2 separate regions of the Homo sapiens genome follow, and region 2 is linked to region 1. Evidence: promoter capture Hi-C in human tissues and cell types (Jung and others, 2019). All regions are on one chromosome and are shown on one strand. Each heading gives the region's core, a stretch centred on a gene start or on the middle of the fragment in contact. The rest is flanking DNA. Distances are from core to core; before and after follow the strand shown. Region 1 holds the start of RIMKLA (ribosomal modification protein rimK like family member A). Region 2 overlaps ZMYND12 (zinc finger MYND-type containing 12).

What was found. Contacts are between HindIII fragments. The study calls those that stand out against the background at their distance.
Region 2: a contact is called between a fragment that was not itself captured here and the fragment with the promoter of RIMKLA in region 1, in 2 of the 25 tissues and cell types used here (H1 embryonic stem cells and aorta).

Annotation. Positions count from the first base shown.
Region 1 is chr1:42,379,404-42,382,399 of GRCh38, forward strand. RIMKLA (ribosomal modification protein rimK like family member A) reads left to right here and starts at 1,389. Exons shown (of 5, transcript NM_173642.4): 1 at 1,389-1,694. The coding sequence starts at 1,532. RefSeq lists silencers at 996-1,175, 1,186-1,305, 1,386-1,605. The HindIII fragment of the contact is 8,902 bases long and covers 1-2,996 here.
Region 2 is chr1:42,443,685-42,446,536 of GRCh38, forward strand. All of the region lies in intron 3 of ZMYND12 (zinc finger MYND-type containing 12), which reads right to left. Among named protein-coding and RNA genes, the nearest start is that of ZMYND12, 11 kb to the right of the region's middle. The HindIII fragment of the contact is 6,677 bases long and covers 1-2,852 here.

The DNA.
Region 1 (2,996 bases), core at 139-2,638:
TAACACGGTGAAACCCCGTCTCTACTAAAAAATACAAAAAATTAGCCAGGCGTACTGGCGGGCTCCTGTAGTCCCAGCTACTCCGGAGGCTGAGGCAGGAGAACGGCATGAACCCGGCAGGCAGAGCTTGCAGTGAGCCGAGATCGCGCCACAGCACTCCAGCCTGGGCCACAGAGCGAGACTCCGTCTCAAAAAAAAAAAAAAAAAAAAAAAAGAAAAACATTGCTTGAAAAATAACTTTTGAAATTCCAGTATACAGAACTTTCCTATAGGCTCATCTTAGTGAGTAAATGCACACACCTGCACAATATTTACAGAGAAGCCTGTGCCTTCCCTGAGACAACTTACCCCATTTCTAAGTTGCCATTGCTGGGTCTACCTTGAAACTACTCTTGCTTCCCTAAGCCAAAAAAGAAATTAAAAAAAGGCATATTTTAATGAACTGGAAGAGCAAATGCAGTCTCCAAAAATGGCTAACTTCAATCCTGCAGTTATTTAGAAAGGAAAATCTGGCTTCAAACACTATTGTCTGCAGGCAGGGTTTGCAATTGGCCAGGACCAAGGACAGTGTTTAAAGATGACTCAGTTGTATGGCCTGGGGAGAGCGGGAGTGGTGAAGGGAGACCAGCCAGTGGTCCTTCTAACTGAAAAGGATGCTAGGTCAATTTTTTATGACCTCGAGTCTGTGAAGGCTCAGACCTGCTGAAACCTAGGAGGGGATGTCCAGTGTAAGAAAATCTGAGACCCCAGGAAATGCACTTTCAAATTATCTGAATGGGAGGTGGGTAAGACTCAACTTCCCCCTCTCCTACATCCTCCCCCACCCCCGTGGGGCTTCAGGCTAGGATTTCGGCAGAGAAATCCCTCTCCTTCCAATGCTTTAGGGTCCAACTGGGGACCTAGCCGTGTGACCTTCGCCATACCCCGGAATCTCCTTTGGGACGTCCCCGAGGCCCTCCCTGTCCGGGGCTCAGCAGGCGTCCGCCCGTGTCCCAGCCCCCGAGCGCCCGGGATCGCCTGGGAGACGCATCCGCCGCCCACTGCGCATCTCTGGCCCGTCAGCTCGGAAACCCTCCGAGCCTCACAGGGCCGCCGCCCCGGCCCCTCCTGCTCCGGCTGTCCCACCCCAGCCCGCAGCGCCACGTCCACCGGGTGTCCGGGGCCTGCCGGGGCTGCCCTCCTCCGCCTCGCCTGCGCCCGCCGGCGGCTCGCTCCCCGGAACCCCGGGTCCTTTCCCCCGCCGCCGCAAGCCCCCCACCCGCCGTCCTTCCCCGGCACCGCCCGCCAGGGTCGCTTCTGCAGCCGCCAGCGCCCGCCGCCGCGCGCTGATTGGCTGGCGGGGCCGACGGCGGCGCTGAGTGGCCGGGCGGATTCGCTGGGTCAGGGCTGCAGAGACGCCTGGCGCACCCGCGGGAGCGGAGCCGTGGCGCGCTCGCCCCGGACGCCGGCCGCCCCTCCGCTCGCCCTACTGAGCGAGCGGCCCGGGGCGCCGAGGGGTCCGCGCCGCGCGGGGCGCACCGCCCTGGCCGCCATGTGCTCCCAGCTCTGGTTCCTGACGGACCGGCGCATCCGCGAGGACTACCCGCAGGTGCAGATCCTGCGCGCCCTCCGGCAGCGCTGCTCCGAGCAGGACGTGCGCTTCCGGGCGGTGCTTATGGACCAGATCGCCGTCACCATCGTCGGCGGCCACCTCGGTGAGCGAGGCGGGCCCGGGGAGGGCAGGGAGGCGCGCCGGGGTCCACGAGAGCCGGTCGGGTGGGCGCGCTCGCCGGGCCTCCCGCAGCAGAGTCTCCTTCGGGCCCGCACACTAGCCGCACTCTAGCTGCGAGACTTCTTGGGGTTGGAGAAAGCCGCTAACCTTCATAGCTTCTTTAACCACCACCACCTGCCCCGAGGCCAAGATTCGAGAACGCGATTTAATTTACTTAGGGGACTTCATTTTGTGAGAAACCCGAATTCACCTGAAGCCACCCAGGTGTCCGAGGAAAATCAGGCTGTTAAACCCCACATTTGCAAATCCTGCTCGCATCAATACCTTGACAGTTTAGACTCTGAGGTTTCTAGAAATCCACACCAGATTTACAAAATTACTATTAAGATGACTGTTTTAAAAAAGTTTTTTGGGAGTGTGTGAGCATCAGTAATGTGCACCACATAGAATATTATTTCCAAACTAGAAAGCCACATATGGGGGAAATCTGAGAAAGATTGGAGTCACTTCTCGAGTGTAAAGTGGGAGTGTAGACCTTTGATGGGTTTAACTCATCCTTCTCCCTAGCAGCGTTGAATTCTGATTCCAGAAGAGCCGGGATTTCAGGTTCAGACAGTTCTGGCCTCACTGATCACTCCACTGCTGTGTTCAGGAGACTTTTGTGGGTAAGACATGGTTGTCATCTGTGGGTTTGACCTCAAAAGGTTAATTATTTTTTCGTATATCCTTAATACAGGCCTCTCTGATTTAGGAATCCCTGACGCAGAAAACCCTCTGGCTTGCTGTTTGAGTGTCTCTGGGGCTCCACTGGAGGCATCCAACCATTTCAGGGAGTCCAGGACTCAAAAGGATTTGCGCCCAGTTCAGGGTGCATCTTGGGATACTGTTCGCATTATTTCAACAATTATTAATGGTTAAATAAGCTCGTAATCTGTTACTTTGCTTTGGCAGGGGAAGGAATTTCAAATTCGGAAAGACTACTTACAAGTGAGATTTTGAATATGACCTGTTTCTGAGTGGAATATATCTGTTATAGATTTTTCATCTCCAAGTTTATCGAAGTCCCTCATACTTAATATCAGATTGTATATCCTGTTGGAGAAATATACCATAAACATTAGGTACCTTACATTTAATCTACAACAATGACTATCAGATGCAACCGGTACCCTCTCTCTATCCTTGATTTATTAAAACTGTCACAGTTAATGTAGAACTAGATTTCTGAACAGGGAATCTGCAGATGTGAATTCCTATTACAGCTTTACAGTTAACAAGTATCTTG
Region 2 (2,852 bases), core at 212-2,711, 64 kb after region 1:
GCTAACAACCCTGTGAAATAATCATCAGATGAGGAATTTGAAGAGGAGGCAACTTCATTCATTCATTCAACCAAACATATATTCACCTAATTGATTGAGTCTCTATCACAATGCATGATGCTCAATGCACACTAAGACATGATCCCTGACTCCAAGAAGCTTAAAATCAAGTGAAGTAGGCATACAATAAATAGACAAAACATGAGTGCTGTGAAGGAAATGAACAGAACACAGTAACCAAAATCCTAGCTCACTGCAGCCTCCACCTGCTGGGCTCAAGCAATCCTCCCACCTCAGTCTCCCAAGTAGCTGGGACTACTATAAGTGCATGCCACCATGACCGCCTAATTTTTTTGTTTTAAGAGATGAGGTCTTGCTAGGTTGCCCAGGCTGATCTTGAATTCCTGGGCTCAAGAGATCCTCCCATTTCGACTTCCCGAAGTGCTGAAATTACAGGTGGGAGTCACCATGCCTGGCCAGTTTAAGCAGACACCTGAAGGATGATCAAAAGCCAGCCACGTATGAGAGAGAAAAGAGCATCCCAGGCAGAAGGAACCATATATGTGAGAGCTCTGAGTGAGGAAGAGCTTGGTGCCTACGATCACCCAGACAGTAAAGAAAGAGATGATATTTGAACTCAGGCTCTCCTGCTTCCAAATCACTCCAGTCTGAAGTAATCTCTAAGATGGGAAAGAAACATGTGCACAGGAAAGTGATTTCTTTAGACTTCCAGAAACGTTAGCAAGGTTTTAAACCAATGACTGTGAAGTTACAGTGAAATCTTCCATTTAGACAGTACTTTCCAGACTTCAAAGCACTTTCATGGTCATTACACTCGAACTCATTTCACCCTTAAAAGAATCCTGTGAAGACAACTCAGATTCAACACATACTTACACAGTGCTCACGAGGTTTCAGGTACTGTGAAATTATCTTTTTAGTACCTTCTCTGTGCTAAGTACTGGGCTGAGTGTGAAGACATCCGTGATAATTAAGAATAGACACAGATCCAGTTCTCCCCTGAGCTTACAGTCTACTGGAGCAGGGAGACAATTAAATAATCTCATCAATGAATACAATTATTAATGGACTAAGTGCTCAGAAGAAAGGAGTAGTTCTTTTTTTTTTTTTTTTTTTTGAGACGGAGTCTCGCTCTGTCACCCAGGCTGGAGTGCAGTAGTGGTGCGATCTCCTCTCACTGTAAGCTCCGCCCCCCGGGTTCATGCCATTCTCCTGCTCCAGCCTCCAGAGTAGTTGGGACTACAGGCACCCGCCACCACGCCCGGCTAATTTTTTTGTATTTTTAGTAGAGACAGGGTTTCACCGTGTTCGCCAGGATGGTCTCGATCTCCTGACCTCGTGATCCGCCCACCTCAGCCTGCCAAAGTGCTGGGATTACAGGTGTGAGCCACCGTGCCCGGCCAGAAAGGGTAGTTCTTTAAACAAGTATATTAAAAATGAGACCCAGCTGGGTGCGGTGGCTCACACCTGTAATCCCAGCACTTTGGAAGACTGAGGTGGGTGGATCATTTGAAGCCAGGAGTTCAAGACCAGCCTGGGCAACATACTGAAACCCTATCTCTACTAAAACTACAAAAAATAGCTGGGCGTGGTGGTGCGTGCCTGTAGTCCTAGCTACTCGGGAGGCTGAGGTGGGAGAATCACTTGTCCCTGGGAGGCAGAGGTTGCAGTGAGCCAAGATCAGGCCATTGCACTCCAGCCTGTACAACAGATCGGGACTCCGTCTAAAAAAAAAAAAAAAAAAGGGGAGACCCAACCTGGTCTGGAGCCCTGGGAAAGCTTCTAGACAAGGCAGTAGTAACCCTTGAGCTGAAACCTGAAAGATGATAAGGAGTTAATTTGGTGAAGGGAAGAGGAGGAGAAGCAGAGAGAGTGGCTACAGAAAAGCCTTTCCAAACAAGGAAATCATCATGCTTCTGAGGAACTGAGAGAAGGCCGGTCGGTGTAACTGGAAGGGAGGGAGAAAATAATTCAAGAGAGACAAGGTGATAGAATTGAGGTGAGAGAATTTGTTAACGGCTAGATCAAGCAGAGCCTCATGGGTTGCTTTAGAAATTTGATCTTTATTTAGAGGAGTGATGGGTCACATTTTTGTATGCAAACCACATTGGAGGGAGGCCAGAGATGATGTGGGGAGACCAGTTAGTAGGCAGTGGTCTAGATGAGAGATGATGAGACTTGGGCTAGGGTGACTTTTCCAGAATCCCATAGCTAGCCAGTGTCAGAGGTAAACAGAACCTGGGCTGTATTTTCTTGTCCAGTGCTTTTCTCATTACTTTGGAGGAAAGACAGTCTGGAATGGGGTGTCAGACCTGGGCAGGGTGAGCAGGGCATTCCTGCAGGCAAACAGCCTGTTATGGGGAGTTGGAACCCACACAAGTGAGGAGGGATCCATGCAGCAGAGGCAGCCTGGAATGGGGAGTCAGGGCCCATGGAGCGGGAAGAGGTATCTATAAGGTGGAAAGGACGGAGTTAGAGAGCGGGGATTGATTCATACAGGGGAACTCATTAATATGTAAATAAACCAATGAAAGTGAAAGCTGTCAGCAAAGGGAGTTGCAATTAAGGAATGGAAGTAAATCAGATTGAACCCTATGGTGCTGTATTAGATCTGGATCAAACAGTATAGACTAGTGGTCATAGAGATATTGATGTAGATATATAGATACAGGCCAGACACGGTGGCTCATACCTGTAATCCCAGCACTTTGGGAAGCTGAAGCAGGTGGATCACTTGAGGACAGGAGTTCAAGATCACAAACATGGTGAAACCCCGTCTCTACTACAAATACAAAAATGAGCCAGGCGTGGTGGCACACACCTGTTGTCCC